Regions from separate parts of the Homo sapiens genome. Here region 1 is linked to region 2. Evidence: promoter capture Hi-C in 16 types of primary human blood cells and fetal thymus (Javierre and others, 2016). All regions are on one chromosome and are shown on one strand. Each heading gives the region's core, a stretch centred on a gene start or on the middle of the fragment in contact. The rest is flanking DNA. Distances are from core to core; before and after follow the strand shown. Region 1 has its middle 22 kb from the start of CHIT1. Region 2 holds the start of LAX1 (lymphocyte transmembrane adaptor 1).

Region 1 (3,623 bases), core at 786-3,285, 510 kb after region 2:
TAGATAAATATAGAATCTTGTAGTATTGTAATGTGTGTAAATCTCTTCTAAATCTCATAGAATTCAAAAAACAAAAGCATAGAAAGTAATTATAAATCTATGGTAATGGATATGCAATATAAAAAAGGTAATTTGAGTCATCAGTAACATAAAGGTGGGGTGGACTGAGATGTAAAGAAGCAGAGTTTTAGATGCAATTGAAGCTAAGTTGTTATCAGCTTAAAATAGATTGTTATGATATTACCCATATTCTTCCAGTCTTCTGCCAAAAGATCTGAATCTACAATTGTCCCAGTGGTACTGAATTACTTATCTGATGATTAAGAATGAAAGAGCCGTTTTCTTTGCAGTCCAAAGGCAAACTTCTGTAGGGAATTCTAGCTAGGGAAAGTGTTATACCCTCTTCTTATTAGTTTCCCCCAGGGAGGAAAGAGTGTGTCTATGGAGAAATCTAATTACAATTTTCTTTGCCCTTTTTGAAATACAAAGGGACAGATTTTCCCCTAATTTATCTATGGAGACACACCTATGTAAGAGAACAGGCAAACAAGTAAGCAAGCAAGCAGTTTTTCTGAATTAAGGGGCTTTAATCAGGAAACCACCACATGGTACTCATTAAAAGTAGATTGTTAAAACATTAAGAGGTTATGTTTCACGTAATTGCAATGGTTACCACAAAGACAGTAACTATAGAATGTAAGTGCTATGATTTGAATATGGTTTATCCCCCACTGAAATTCATGTTAAGGCTTGTTCCCCATGTAATGGTGTTGAGAACTGGTGGGACCTTTAAGAGGCATTTGGGTCATAAGCCATCTGTCCTTATGAAGGGATTAATGCCATTTCACAGGAGTGAATTATTGCTCTTCAGTGACTGGATTAGTTACCGCAAGAGTGGGTTGTTATAAAGTGAGGTCACCCCTCATGTTTTCTCTCTTGTGTGTGTACCCGCTCAGTGCTCTCACATGCATAACCACCATGTGATGCCATCCTCCATGTTATGACACAGCATGAGACCCTCGTCAGATGCAGCTGTTTGATCTTGAACTTCCCAGCATCAAGAACTGTGAGCTAAACAAACCTCTTTTTAAAAAATAAATTACCTGGTCTCAAGTATTCTGTTACAGCAACAGAAAATGGACAAAGACTGTAAAGGAAAGGAAGTGAGAAGGGAATCAAAATCTGTGGCCACAAAAAAAAATTAATGAAACACAAAAGAAATTATCAAAAGAAAAAAGGGGGGGGGGACAAAGAAAGCTACAAGTGAAACAGAACACAATGAACAAAATGGCAACAGTAAGTCCTTCACTATCAGCAATTTCTTAAAATGTAAATGCCATTATGAGCAATTATATGCCAACAATTGGATTTGGCAATAATTTCTTGGATATGATACCAAAAGCACAGGCAACAAAATAAAAAATAGACAAATAGTACTACATAAAACTTAAGTTTTTTTACACATCAAAGTAACAGTCAACAGAGAGAAAAGGCAACCTATGGAATGGGAGAAAAGAGTTGCAAGTCATATATCTGATAAGGGGTCAATATCCAGAATATATAAGGATCTTGTACAACTTAACAACAAGAAAAACCCCAAATAATCCAATTTAAAAACTGGCAAAGGATTTAAATAGACATTTCTCCAAAGAAGATATATGAATGGTTATTAAGTACATGAAAATATGCTCAACATCATTAATCACTAGGGAAATGTAAATAAAACTCACAATGAGATATCACCTCACACCCATCAGGATAGCCATTATAAAAATAACAGGAAATAACAAGTGTTGACAAGGATGCAGAGAAGTTTGGGTCCTCATGCACTGGTGGTGGGAAAGTAAATTATACAGATGTTATGAAAAACAGTATGGAGTTTCTCAAAACATTAAAAATAGAACTATCATATGATCCAGCAATCCCCCTTTTGGGTATATAGCCAAAAAGCTTCAAAGCAGATCTCAGAGATATTTGCACACCCATGTTCATTGCAGGATTATTCACAATAGCCAACAGGAGGAAATAACAGGTAATTGGATAAGAAAATGTGGTATATGCACATAATGGAATTTTATGTGCCCTTAAAAAAGGGCATGTTACAACATGAATGAAGCTTAAGGACATTATGCTAAGTGAAATAAGCCAGTCACAAATGGACAAATACTGTATAATTCACTCATATAAAGTATCTAAATAAGTCAGAATCCTCAAAACATAAAGTAAAAAGGTAGTCGCCAAGAACTTGCGGGAGGTGGGATGGGGAATTCATGTTTGGTAGGTATAGAGTTTCAGTGTTGCAAGAAGAAAAATTTCTAGAGACTTGTTGCACAAGTGAATATACTTAACAGTACTGAAATGTACATTTAAAAATGTTTAGGATGGTTTAATGTTGTGTGGTTTTTACCACAATACAAAAAAAAAGACTCAGCTAAGAAAACGAACAGGCAAAACCAAAGGCTGGTAGAAAACATTCACAGTACATATATCTGAATATGGATTTCTATCCAGAATAATAAAGAACTTCTAACACAATAAAAATGTGGATGACAGACTTGAGCAACATTTTCAGAAGCAAACAAAGACATATGAATGGACAAAGACATATAAAAAAAGTGCTCGACATCATTACTCAGCAGGCAAAGGCAAATTAAAGCCATAATGAATCACTACATGCCTACTAGAATGTCTAAAATTATAAAGACTGTCAACACCACATGTTGGCAAGCATTTGACATAACAAAAACTCTCACGTTGCTCTTGGATGTGTGAAATGGCACAATTACTTTGAAAAGTTGCTTGCTTGGTAGCTTCTTATTAAACATAAAGCTAGCTGATGACTCTAATTTTACACCTGTGTATTTATTCAAAGTAAATGAAAACATATGTCCACGAAGAGACGTATACATAACTGTTCATAGAAGCTTTGCATTTCTGATAGCCAAAACTGGAAATAACCCAATGTTTATGAAGTGGGATATATTCATAAAATACAATACTTCTTGCAATTAAAAGAAACAGACTACTGATAACAACAAAATGGATGAGTCTCAAAAACTTTATGCTGACTGAAACAAGCCAACATTAAAGAGCTCTCGGTGGCCAAAGCTGGAAAAATTTGAGCAGCAAAATAAATAATGTACTAATAGTATTTGATTATAACTCAAAACATAAATAAATATCTATGAGTCCATATGGATATAAATAAATGATATAGTAAATAAATGGGAGAGAAGGGACAAATGTCCCATACAGAATTATATAATAAAGGTATGTAGTTGCTTCTTCCCCAAGGAAGTGGAGCTTAACTCCTCACCCCTAGAGTGTGGGCTGCACTTACTGACTCGCTTCCAAAGAGTAGAATAGGGAAGCCAGGTGGAGAAGTAGAAACCTGGCAAATAGTATCCCGGCCTGGTAATCAAGATTAAAAAGATCAGTTATGTGGATAATACCTACCTTTTAGTTTTAGTTTTTTGAGACAAGGTCTCACTCTGTCACCAGGCTGGAGTGCAGTGGTAAGATTTCTGTTCACTGCAACCTCTGCCTCCTGGGTTCAAGCGATTCTCCTGCTTCAGCCTCCCAAGTGGCTGGGATTACACGTGCATGCCACCATGCCTGGCTAA
Region 2 (3,725 bases), core at 681-3,180:
AGAGGTGGGCGGATCACCTAAGGTAGGGAGTTCGAGACCAGCCTGACCAACATGAAGAAACCCCATCTCTACTAAAAATACAAAAAAAAGTTAGCCGCGGGTGGTGGCACATGCCTGCAATCCCAGCTACTCAGGAGGCTGAAGCAGGAGAATAGCTTGAACCTGGGAGGTGGAGGCTGCAGTGAGCCGAGATCACGCCACTGCACTCCAGCCTGGGCGACAGAGCGAGACTCTGTCTAAAAAAATAAAAATAAAAAAAACAAACAAAACAAAACAAAAAAAGTGTTGATGACTATAGTTAATAAAAATGTGTCATATTCTTGAAAATTGCTGAGAAATTTTAAGTATTCTCACCACAAAAGAAAATTGTGAAGTAATGTGTATCTTAATTAGTTTAATGTAGCTATTGTACAATGTATACATATTTCAAAACAACAGGCTATCATGATAAATATATATAATTTTGATTTGCCAATTAGAAATAAATAAAAATAAATGAAGAAATAGTTTTGGAGAGATGCTTCAGGCTTCTGATTCATTGCTCATTGATGCTCATATCTACCAGCAAGTGACATGTGTTTGCCATGATAATAACATTTATTTCCCCAAACGACTGCAATTTTATTTTATTTTTTGAGACAGAGTTTCGCTTTTGTTGCCCAGGCTGGAGTACAATGACATGACACTGCAACCTCTGTTTCCCGGGTTCAAGTGATTCTCCTGCCTCAGCCTCCTGAGTAGCTGGGACTACAGGAGCATGCTACCACTCCCGGCTAATTTTTGTATTTTTAGTAGAAACGGGGTTTCACCATGTTGGCCAGGCTGGTCTTGGCCAGGCTGGTTCAAGAGTGGGGGTGATCCGCCCCACTCGGCCTCCCAAAGTGCTGGGGTTACAGGTGTGAGCCACCGCGCCCAGTCAGCTGCCAATGTTTTTAAAGTTTCAACTGTGGATGGATTTTTAATTTTGTTTGTATGAGATTGAAAGTAGTAGCAGTAATTCATACCCATGATTAGTTCTGTAAGATTTTACGTCCTAAGGACGTATCTTTATTACATCTATCACTACATTTTTTATTCATGACAAGTTTTTGGATCTCAAAACACATCCTTGGAAAACTCAGCCTTTTGTTTCTGTCATGGTGACACCTAGGAAAGACTGATGATAGGGTTCAGGGCCTCCGAGAGGTGAGAAATCCAACCAGTCTAAGCAACTAGCTTTAAGGGCCAGTGTTATCACAGTTTTTCCTCTACCACAATATTTTCTTTCTTTCCTCAATACCTTCCTTTCCCCCTAGCACCCCTGAGCAAATGCCTCCAAGCCTAGAGTTTGGTGGTTTAGTAGACCGAGCCTGGGTGTTGAGAGGTGGCAGCACTGCTGTGTAAGAAGCTCCTAAGGGTGGACTAGGACCTTCTGCCTAAATCAGGGCAGGGTGGAGCTCACCACCCTGAGTCACTCACCTGTCCAGGCTGCGGGGAGTCACATGCAGAGTGCTGGACTCCAAGGTCCTCCCTCTGATTGTCGAAAGGGTTGGAGTGACACCATCCATTGTATCAGGAACCTTTGAGATGCTCTCTGGCTTCAGCTTCTAAGTTTCTCTTAATCATAATCAGTTAGCCAGCATGTCTACCACTTCTCCCCACCCCCGCAACAAACTCCCTATCTCGTGTCTACCTCTGAAACGTCAGGCCAAGTTGACCCAACATACAAAAGCAACAGGTTTGGTTCTACCTGGACGTGGCTAATGCCCACTGCAGGAAGTGCGATCTCATCCGGACATGGTGCTTCCAAGTGAGGTGGCTCAGGGAGAATCTGTGGCCTCTGCCTTCACGTTTCTGGTGGAAACGTGAGGGGCACAGAGGGGGAAACTGCCAAGAGGCTCAAGAGAGGCTCCGTGAGAAGCTCGTCTTCCTTCAACACCCAAAGCAGAGTGAAAAGAGCAAACCACTTTGCCAGAATGGAAACAGAGAGTCAGTCACCGGAAACGACACCACCAATGTGCTAATGAAGCACAGGGCACAGGAAACTCTGCTCAGCTCTTAATCTGCTAGAAGAAAACATATCTTCAACCCACCGTTCCTGGGTTTGCCAGGTGCTCTGTGGTCTGTGATGAGTGTGATTAAAAATGGGGCAGGGTAGTAGAGAACTTGTGATTCTTCACCCTGAGTTTCTGAGACACTTAGAGTTGTATAAGTCTTCAGATTTACAGTATTTTCTAAGCAAGTCTAAGGAGCACTGGAGGTTGCCTTTTAGAGTGAAATGCAGATCTCCGGGACCCTCTTCTGATTCAGTGGGTGGAGGCTGCAGAGGGGGCAGGCTTTGGCTATCGATGCTTTCCAGGTGAATTTGATGGAGCTTTCAGGTGATTTTGATGGAGCTCATCTGTGTTTCATGTTTTGGGAACCTCTGCTCTGGGTACTACCTTAAGAATAGAAGTTATGCTGGGTTAGCAGGACCCCTGCTCCCCCAAGGCAACCTTCCACAGCTCCTGGCTGCTGGTGATCTCCTGTTCTCAGGGCTCTTCTGAAGATCAGTCACAGTCTTACTTGTCACACACCTGTCTCAGAAGCTGAACAAGTTCATCCTTAAGAGCTACCCAAAGTGTTTGAAGATTGTTCAAAATTTATTGCTAACTCCCCTCCCTTCTTGAGCCTACTAATCTCCGGAAACACTCTTTGCATCTTGGGAGAGTCCAAAGAGAAGGGGCCACTAAGACTGTTGTAAGGATGTGAAGAACCTCTCTGATTGCACTTTCCACAAGGAAATGGATTCCCAGATGAATGGAAGGGCAGACCAGCAGTACCCTCCTAGAACCATGCCTCCCTCCCATCTCTTCCCAGTGGACATTGAGGTCCTCAGCTTTCCTGAGGTGGCAGCCCCTGGCCTGTCTGCATCCAGACTCTCACAGAGTCCCCAGGGGCTGCAGACTGGCCATGGCTGGCTTTCCAGGGAGCTTTATCATTCCAGGTCCTGGGCCCCTTCCCTCCCAGGAGCTTCACCTGGTAGGAAGCAGAAATGGCTCAGAGGCAGCTGGTGCTGGAGCTGGAACCTGGGTCTCTGCCCACTTCTCCTTTGGATCAGGTCTGAGTAGGAACTAGGACTACTCACAAGATCCATCATGCTGGTGGCAAGGACTGGGGTCCTGGGCCATTGGAACCAATAAGGGACTGTGAGAATCAGGACCTCGGAAGGCAGTACACGGAAAGGGCACATGGAACCAAACCTCAGAACCATGACTGCTAATTAAAAAAAAAAAATTTTTTTTTTTTTTAAAGAACTTTTCCATTGCATGTGATCATTTCAGGGCCTCACTTATCTTATCTACCCAATCTGCTGCAGTTAGACCAATCTTCCCTCTGGTTGTCCAATTCTCTCCTGCCCCCACATCTCAGGGAAATCACCACCTCAGAGGCAGCTGCCCAAGTTACCTGCCTCAGACTGCAGGTGAGTGCCAGGATTCCAGGCCTTGGCTGTGCCCCTCATCCTGCTCTCCTTTCCTTCCCCATGGGGCAAAATCCAATCAAACTGACAAACTAAAACAAAAAGTAGGTAGCTGAAATGATTCATCATAATAGCGGGGAAAAAACAACAGCAACAACAAAAAACACTCGTTCCTGGGAAATGGGGTGTATTTTGTTGTTGTTGTTGTTTTTTTGAGATAGAGTTTTGCTCTTGTTGCCCAGGCTGGAGTGCAATGGCATGATCTTGGCTCACCGAAACCTCCGCC

The links. Contacts are between HindIII fragments. The CHiCAGO score rates a contact against its expected background, and 5 or more counts as called.
Region 1: a fragment that was not itself captured here is called in contact with the fragment with the promoter of LAX1 in region 2 in 3 of 17 cell types (total B cells, naive CD4 T cells and naive B cells); the score reaches 5.4 in total B cells.

What each region holds. Positions count from the first base shown.
Region 1 is chr1:203,250,144-203,253,766 of GRCh38, reverse strand. No RefSeq gene overlaps it. Among named protein-coding and RNA genes, the nearest start is that of CHIT1, 22 kb to the right of the region's middle. The HindIII fragment of the contact is 166 bases long and covers 1,953-2,118 here.
Region 2 is chr1:203,763,388-203,767,112 of GRCh38, reverse strand. It overlaps LAX1 (lymphocyte transmembrane adaptor 1), which reads right to left and starts at 1,930. Exons shown (of 5, transcript NM_017773.4): 1 at 1,459-1,930. The coding sequence starts at 1,547. RefSeq lists an enhancer at 1,688-2,047. The HindIII fragment of the contact is 21,277 bases long and covers 1-3,725 here.